Regions from separate parts of the Homo sapiens genome. Here regions 2 and 3 are each linked to region 1. The links are contacts of gene promoters, found by promoter capture Hi-C in human tissues and cell types (Jung and others, 2019). All regions are on one chromosome and are shown on one strand. The core of a region is centred on a gene start or on the middle of the fragment in contact, and the rest is flanking DNA. Distances in the headings are between cores, read along the strand shown. Region 1 holds the start of ARFGAP3 (ARF GTPase activating protein 3). Region 2 overlaps POLDIP3 (DNA polymerase delta interacting protein 3). Region 3 holds the start of A4GALT (alpha 1,4-galactosyltransferase (P1PK blood group)).

Region 1 (2,824 bases), core at 107-2,606:
GTGGTGTCAGCCTCATCAGGAGGCTGGGAAGGAAGGATGGCTTGGGCTGGGTAGGTCAAGGCTGCAGTGAGCTAGGATCAAGGCACTACACTTCAGCCTGGGTGACGGGGTGAGACCCTGTCTCTAAAAAAATAAATAAATAAAAATGTGAAAATCAAGAGAACAGTAAAGAAACGGGCACTGGAGAATTCCTGGAGCCTTTCTCTTAACTTTCCCACATCCATCAGACATCACCTCCAATAAACTGTTTCCTTCCTCACCTAGGCTGGAAAAAATATGGGCTCCCCTGTACCATCAAGACTTAAAACCAACAGAAACACCTATTTTGTAACACTCGGGAACTTTCTATGCCAGCATATCGAGGTTCAATAACAGCTGTTCCCTTCGGGAAGTGACAGTGGGAACCAGACAACACTCGTGTCACAGGAGGGGCGGGGAGAGCCCACGCTGACGCGACAGCCCTTTGCACTCTCCAAGTCCCTCTCCGACCCGACGTGTCACCTTAGCCCCCTGCGTCACCCCAACGCCTCCAGCCAGCTGCGCAAAGCTGTAAAAGTTCCAGGGAGAGAACAGCCTCTGGAGACAAAAAAAAAAAGGAAACCTCCATCTCCAAAGAGAACCGAGGAGAGGGAGGAGGCTGTGGTGAGCCTCCCTGGCCAAAGCGACAAAAGCTGGAAGCCAAAGCGTAGACTACTCGGCAACTTTATCAGAAGAGAAACTGAGGCAGGCACCGCAAGGCCCGAGGAGCCAAGCCGGCTCCAACAGGCGGGGTCGAGCTCCAGGGTGGCGCTGGGGGAGCCGCGCTTTCCCCGCATCCGGCGCCAGCAGCCGGGGTTTCCGAGCCGGGAGCTCCCTCCTCGCAGCGCCCCCGAGGATGCCCCCGCCCCCGCCTCCGCTCAGAGCCGCCGGTGCTCGCCCCCCGCCCCAAGAGCTCGCCGGGGGGTGTGCCCGCGCCGCCGCCCCCGGGAACGCTCCCCGGCTCGCGTGAGGACCCCCGCGCTGCGGCCTCCCGCCCGGGCCTCTCAGCTGCCCGGCCCCGCCCGCCCCGGCCCGGCCAGGCTGCCGCGGCCCCACAGTGCGACGTGTCACAGGCCGCGCCGGCCCCGCCTCCCAAGCCACGGGCACTGGCGCCCGCGGGGCCTCCCGCCGGTTCCCGCAGGGATGCCAGGCAGGCCCGCACTCGCCCGCGGCCGCTACCTTGTTAGTGGGCACCGAGCGGAGGCGCTTGAAGATGGTCAAGATGTCCTGCTTGCTGGGGTCCCCCATCGTCAGCTGTGAGCCGCGGCGCAGCTGGCCCAGCCAACCGGTAAGAGTCGACGAAAAGCGGCTACCGCCTCAGCAGGAGCGACGAGGCCGCGGGGGCGGGGCTGCGCGTAACGGTCAGGCTCCGCCCCAATCCCCGCCCACGACCGGGCCCGTCCACCGCCGGGGCGCAGGCGCCGCTCGCTTTCCCTCCCCGCCCTCGCTTCAGCCGCGCCGCTGGCCCGACCCCAGGCGCTGCACGCGCGTGCGCAGGAGGCTCGCGCGCCATTTGCGGCGCGGCTCCACGCCCTTAGCGCTGGGCGAAGCCGGGCCCGGGTGTGGCTGCCTGCCACGCGCGCTGCCATAGGATCCACCAACGTTTCGCCTGGTCGATCGCCATTTCGCCTAACGGGCTGCTTCCATGGAAAGGTCAGAGGCAGGGGAAGGGGCGCACGCGCCCTCCTTCGGCACGAGACGGACGGAGGGCCCGTGCCTTGACGCCGGACCTTAGCTGGTGGCCTTCCCTTTTTTTTTTTTTTTTTTTGAGACGGAGCCTCGCTCTGTCCCCCAGGCTGGAGTGTAATGGCGCGATTGCGGCTCCTTGCAACCTCCCTGGTTCAAGCGATTCTCCTGCCTCAGCCTCCCGAGTAGGTGGGATTACAGGCGTACATCACCACGCCCGGCTAATTTTTGTATTTTTAGTAGAGACCAGGGTTTCACCATGTTGCCCAGGCTGGTCTCGAACTCCTGACTTCAGGTGATCCACCCACTTCGGCCTTCCAAATTGCTGGGATTACAGACGTGAGCCGCCGCGCCCGACTCTTTTTAATTCTTGCCCTCAGCTCACGCCAGGCCCTGGGTGGAAAGCTTTCTTTGCCCGGAAACTGGCTTTCTGAAACCAAGGGCTTTTGTGTCACGTTCATGGAGAGATGGCAGTGCGGGTTGAGGCAGAAGTGCTCAGTCAGAACTGATGAGTCCAGATGAGAAGCTTGACTTTTAACCCCGGCCCTCGGGGCTGCACCCTACCCTCTGGGAAACAATTCCAGCCAGAAGAGTTTACACTCAGCAGAAGGTGCCTCTGTCACCACAATGGGTGTGGAGCCACTGGAAAGAGGTTGGGTGATAGTGAGGAAGGACAGCAGGTTTTGGCATCAAAGGCACTACCTTGGCCTCAATCCCAGTTCAGCCAGCTGCTTCCTAGCTCTGTGGCCTTGGTCAAGACACTTACCTTCTCTAAAGCATGGTTTATTTGCAGTCTCAGGGGCTCATGCCTGTGATCCCAGCACTTTGGGAGGCTGAGGCGGGAGGATCACTTGAGCTCAGGAGTTCAAGACCAGACTGGATAATATGGTGAAACCCCGTCTCTATAAAAAAATGCAAAAATTAGCCGGGCATGCTGGCATGGGCCTGTAGTCCTAGCTACTTGGGAGGCTGAGGTGGGAGGATCGCTTTAGTCCAGGAGGTCGAGGCTGCAGTGAGCCAAGATCGCACCACTGCACTCCAGCATGGGCGACAGACCAAGACCCTGTCTCAAAAAGTAAAATAAAATAAACCATGGTTTATTCATCTGTACAAAGAAATT
Region 2 (2,824 bases), core at 214-2,713, 250 kb before region 1:
AGGAAGTAACAGAAGAATCATCAATCCAGAGACCATGCCGGTAACGCACATGTAGGGCTTAATGGACTTGGCTCAGTAAATGTTTGCTGTGGCCGCTGCTGTTCCTATTACCAAAGCTGCTATGAAGGTTAAATGACATTGTTTCCTTTCCCTCTGTGGTGGCAGCTGTGAAGGGTGGCCAGGGCCTTGGACTAGGGGCCAAATCCCACTGGGCCTGGGGGTGGAGTGAGGACTGTAAGGTCACAGATATTAAGGGCCTGCCACATAGCATGTGCTCAATAAATCTTTTGTCCTTTCCTCTCTCTTTCTTCCACCAGTATCTCACCTGGGAAAGTCACCAAATTTCTATGGGCCTCCTTTTTCTTTTTTTTTAGAACTGAGATAATACCTTTCCTTCCTTGTATAGTTCCTTGGCTATAACGTACTTAAAGCCTCTGTAAGGAGCAAAGTCTGTATTATGCCAACACTTGAGAGGATAGTATTTTTGCCCAGTCACTCCTGGCACCTTGCCTCTAAATCTACCTTTGTTACTAGCTTTCTGGGAATTCATGACAAAAGCCACAACTCACCTGGATGGTTTTGGTGAGCTTCAGAGCAGGGGTCACTGTCCCAATGGGTGGGTTTATGAAGGCAGCAGGGGAACTCCTCTTCAAGCTGATCTTCTCCCGGGCATCAGCAACCTGGCGGGGCTTCTGGGGCACCGTGGTCTGCTGCTTGCGAGAGTTCAACATCTCTCTGGCATCCTGCACTTTCCCTTTGATTCGAAATCGGGCATCTTTCTGCAAAAGCTTCTCCCGGGCATCCTTGACTCCCAGTTTGAGCCGGGCATCTGAGAGGCCAATCTTCTGCCGGGCATCAAATCTCTGCTGGAAGGTGGCTGTGCGTGTTGACTGGCTGAGAAGGCCTTGCTGGATCCCAACTCGAGATCGGACACCTCCAACTCCCGGTCTGGCATTAAGCCTGTAAATATAAATTGCAATCAATATTAAGTGGATCTGGGTATCTACAGCAGTCTATGAAAGCGGAACTGTGGTAACACTGGGGACAGAGGAGGCCCTGGAGAATCAGAAAGCGGCTCCTTGCCTGTGATTGAATAAACGATTATGCCTACATGATGACTCCTTTCCTGGTTTCATGATGGCTTTTAACTTTGCATTTTAAGCAAAATTAAGAGAGAGGGGCTGGCAAGTTTTATTCCTAGTTAAGAGTGTTTTGCTTCCTAGACCACGTGTCTTGAGACACCAACATGGACAATAACTTCCCAACAATGCCAGTCAAATAAAATAAACATCCACCAAATCTAATCCCACTCATCTGAGGAGTAACTTTAGTTTCCAAGGCCCATCCCCATCCATGTTCTCACTCAGCCCTCTCAGCACCCTGAGAAGTACTTACTATGCCCACTTTACAGTGGGAGAAGCAGGTTTGGAGAGGCTCAATGATTAACAAAGAGTGTCTCTAAGGAAGGCAGACACCATCTACTGGGCTAAGACCAAGAGAGCAAACATATGGGTCTGGCTTAGAGCTAGAGGAAAACAGAAAACACAAAGACTTGGTAGGAAAGAAAGAAAAAATTGCAATAGCAAAAATATCAAATACAGAAACCACTGAAATTGGAAATGATCGGGTACAGGGTTCGCTATTTGGGTAATGGGTACACTAGAAACCTAATCCTCACCAGTATGCAATATAATCCATGGAACAAACATGTACATGTACCCCCTGAATTTAAAATAAAATATTTTTTTTAACTGGAAATGAATGAAACTCCATAAACAGGCCCCGGTCTCTTTCTTGGGTTCCTCTGTTGGCCTACAGTGGCTTGAAAGTGAACAGAAGGCCCTCCTGAGTATAGCGCTGGAGATCCTCCCCAAGGTCTTTGGGCTTCTTCTGTCGCCTCCCACCCTCAGGCCTCTCTACAATAGCTACCCTCAACGGCCACTCATGCGGCAGACGCTCTGCCTGCGGACTCCTATGTCAAGGGGTGCTCTTTGGGAAACCCTCCCGGATTTCTCCAGGCCAACTCTCCTCTGTGCCTATTATTATACCTGCTTGTTTCCTTTTTTCTCTCCCTACCCTGGGTGGGGCGGGGGGAGGAGAATGGGGTTCAGTCCTTTTGCAGGGCCCAGCACCTCCTAAGCAGCATCGAGCCCTGGCTGAGTGTCAGAAACTCCTGTGGAGCTTCTTAAATACAGAGCTGTCCAGATCCCACCCTAGATGCTGAATCCAAAATCTGGGGCGAGGCCTGGCCATCTGCATTTTTAACTCCATGGGTGATTCTGGAGAAGAGCCATGTTGAGGATCTCTGACCTGCTGTTAGAGGGTAAACTCTGCTGCATAAACGAGTTCCTGTATTGCCTCCCACTTCACTGCCTGGACCTCCCAGGAGGCATCTCTCATACTGGGTCAGTCACTGGCACTCTCCCACTGCTGCATTCCAGTGGCTGGAGTGAGATTGGCTGTCAGTTCCTCTGCTAATGAATACCAGAAGTGCAGCCAAAGGTGAGTCTACCTGGTACCAATAAAAGCAAACGTGGACCTTCATCTTGTTATCCCTCAAATAATGGAAAAACACCTGCTGCCTCCAATATGCCAGTACCAAACCTAAGGCGGTAATACAGACTGAACATCTGTGTCCCCCCAAAATTCCTCTGTTGAAGCCTAATCTGCAATGTGATGGTGGTAGAAGGTGGTGGCCTTTGGGAAGTGATTAAGTCATGAGGACAGAGACTTCACAAATGGGATTAGTGCCCTTTATAAGGAAGAAGCCCCAGAAAGCTCCTTGGCCCCTTCCACCATGTCAGGACTCAGCAAAAAGACCATC
Region 3 (2,824 bases), core at 134-2,633, 140 kb before region 1:
TTCCATCTCTCCTCTTCCTTTCTTTTCCTTTCTATTTTGTTTTCCTTTGTATTCCTTTGATTTGGGGACCCTCTTTTGGGGGGTTGCAGCTATGGAAACACAGTGTAGCAGGGTTTCGGGTCCTGGAGAAGGTTTGAGGCTGGAAGAGGGCTGTGGGAAATCTTGAGGGAGGCCTGGCTCCATCCGCACTCTGCTATGGGACCCTGGGCAGGGTGGCTCCCTCATTCTTTGGGAGGAGGTGACAAAGGGGAAGTCTTTGGGCAGCTGGTGGCGGGAACGGGAAGGCCAGACCTGGCCTGAGACCCACCAGGTGCTCGGGGTTATTTGCTGAGTGCAGGGTACGTGACCCCAAGGGGCCTTCGCGGAACAATCACTCGACGTTGGCGGAGGGGAGGAAGCCGCAGAGAGGGTGTCGTGAGGGAAAGGTGGGTGCAGGGGAAATGGCGCTTTAACCCACTCAGGGCCAGAGGCTCAGCCGAGACTATCCAGGTGGGAACTTGTCCCTCCGGATGACAGGTGATGAAACTGAGGGAAGGGGACTCGCCCTGGCAGTGAAACGGGATGGGCGCTGGGACCAGGTGCCCCGGCAGATCCTCTCCCAAGCCCAGTTCCGCTCCCGCTCAGTCCTCAACCTTCCCCAGCTGGAGAGGAGGGAGGGGCGCCTGCGGATCCGAGGCGAGCGCGGAGGCCGGGCGACTCCAACCGGCTCGCCCCGTGCCCAGCTCGTACCCAGGCCGTTTCCCGCACGGGGAGGGCCCTTCCCGCTTCTGGGCAGGTCCAAATCCTCACCCTCCCTAAGGCCGGCGCCGACGCTGCCAGCCCGGCAGAGCCCCCTCCTGCCGGCCGCTCTCCATCCCCGTCCCCGGTCGCATCCGCTCCGGGGCGAGCACCGCCCGACGCCCAGGCTTCCCCCGGACGGAGGAGCGCGACTCACCCACGGTGGCCGGGCAGAGCCTGCCTCGAACCCGGCTTCTCCCCGACGCCCTCTCTCCAGCCCCGGGACCCAACCGGGTGGGGCTGCCCTCGAGGGCTCCGGAGCCAGGCGCGTCCTGCCCGCGAGGGCCGGGGCTCCGGGTCCCGCCGCCGCGCTCCACTTCGGGGCGCAGTTGGGGTGGAGGCGGTGGCCGGGACCGCCGCGCGGGGTTCGTGCGCGCACAAATGTCGCCTCCAGAACAGGTGGCCCGGGCTAGGGCGGCGGCCCAGCCCCTCCGCCCCTGCCCCTGCCTTCCCGAGGCGCCTCCTCCCCACTGCGAGCCGCAGGATCCCCCTGGAGCCCCCGTCCCCCGCAACATCGGCGCGGCCCCTCGTACCTCTAGCTCCAGCGGCGGCGGGCGGCGGACAGCGGGGCCCCGGCGGGCGGGCGGCGCGGCGGCCGGAGGGCAGTGCCTGGGGCCCGGCGGGAGGCAGCACCGCCCCTCCGGCCCGGGGCGGGGTCAGGCCGCCCCGCCCCGCCCGTCCCGACCTACCCTGCGGGTCCCGGTCCCCAGAGCCCTTGCGGGGTCCCCGCGACCCCGCCCGCGCGCCCTCGCTGCTCCCCGGGGCGGGTGCGGACAGTCCCCAGTCCGCCGGCCAACAGGTAGGGAGCGCTCCCCGGCCTCCGCGCCGCCAGTATTACGGGTTACCATCCCGTTTTCCCCATTGAACTGATGAGAAAACTGAGGTTCAGAGGGTTGAGTACCTCGATATTCTGCAGTGGAGAAGGGACGCTGTCACCCCTGGGACCCGGGTCGGCCTGATCCCACCGCCTCCTGCCGGGACCGTGCTAAGGGCATTGCCTGCATCACCCCAGTGTTTGCGGAATTCCAGTTATTTGCTGTATCCTTAACGCCGCCCCGTCCTTTCTCTACTCCTCCTCCTCACTCTCACCTCGCCCCATCTTCACACATATTGCTATTGGTAATTTGTTCAATGTGAGAAATTGGAATGTATCACACACAATTCGTGTATCATAAAACTGTATTTTATTCTCTTTGGAACATGCCATGTTTCCAGCATGTCACAGTCCTGGTGCTTTTAGTTCTTACTCCTCTGGGACAACAAAGACTGCAAAAAATGAAACCATTGGGTGACTTCTTGAGTGCTGACGCCCATCCTCTCACTCAGCTGATGACCCAGTGCCCAAGCCACTGAGAAAATGGAACCTCTATCCTAGCCCTGAGAAAGAGCCTGGCACTCAATGGGTGCCCAATAAATACACTTCGAATGAAGGAATCAGTAGAAAATTCCCACCAGCTCCCCCACCCACCCGCTGAGGTAGCACCCAGTCCCTTCCCTCTTGGGACCGGGCTGAACCCGTCCAGCTCCTGGCCACGACCACCCCCTCCAGAAGATCCCGACCCTTCACGCCAACACTGATCCCGAAACCCTGCCCTCTCTCCATTCTCCCTGGGTCATTCCCATCACAGGCTGTTACTTCTCCCATCTTAAAACGGAAACAAGAGGCCAGGCAAGCACTCACGCCTGTAATCCCAGCACTTTGGGAGGCCAAAGCAAGCAGGTCACCTGAGATCAGAAGTTCAAGACCAGCCTGGCCAACATGGTGAAACTCCATCTCTACAAAATACAAAAATTAGCTGGACATGCTCACTTGAACCCAGGAGGTGGAGGTTGCAGTGAGCCTAGATCATGCCACTGCACTCCAGCCTGGGTGACAAGAGCCAGACTCTGTCTCAAAAAAAAAAAAAAAAAAAAAAAAAAAAAGAATGAATGCGGACCCTTTCTCCACTGGTAATACTCATTTTTTTTTTTTTTTTTTTTTTTTTTTGAGAAGAGACTCACTCTGTTACCTAGGCTGGAGTGCAGTGACACCATCTCGGCTCACTGA

Evidence for each region. Contacts are between HindIII fragments. The study calls those that stand out against the background at their distance.
Region 2: a contact is called between a fragment that was not itself captured here and the fragment with the promoter of ARFGAP3 in region 1, in 1 of the 25 tissues and cell types used here (heart right ventricle).
Region 3: the fragment with the promoter of A4GALT here is called in contact with the fragment with the promoter of ARFGAP3 in region 1 in 2 of the 25 tissues and cell types used here (lymphoblastoid cells and spleen).

What each region holds. Positions count from the first base shown.
Region 1 is chr22:42,855,917-42,858,740 of GRCh38, forward strand. It overlaps ARFGAP3 (ARF GTPase activating protein 3), which reads right to left and starts at 1,357. Exons shown (of 16, transcript NM_014570.5): 1 at 1,198-1,357. The coding sequence starts at 1,266. RefSeq lists an enhancer at 516-1,360 and a silencer at 883-1,632. The HindIII fragment of the contact is 10,713 bases long and covers 1-2,824 here.
Region 2 is chr22:42,602,201-42,605,024 of GRCh38, forward strand. It overlaps POLDIP3 (DNA polymerase delta interacting protein 3), which reads right to left. Exons shown (of 9, transcript NM_032311.5): 2 at 570-960. Among named protein-coding and RNA genes, the nearest start is that of POLDIP3, 11 kb to the right of the region's middle. RefSeq lists an enhancer at 3-297. The HindIII fragment of the contact is 5,402 bases long and covers 1-2,824 here.
Region 3 is chr22:42,719,487-42,722,310 of GRCh38, forward strand. It overlaps A4GALT (alpha 1,4-galactosyltransferase (P1PK blood group)), which reads right to left and starts at 1,384. Exons shown (of 3, transcript NM_017436.7): 1 at 1,311-1,384. RefSeq lists silencers at 824-953, 1,034-1,263, 1,294-1,483. The HindIII fragment of the contact is 38,593 bases long and covers 1-2,824 here.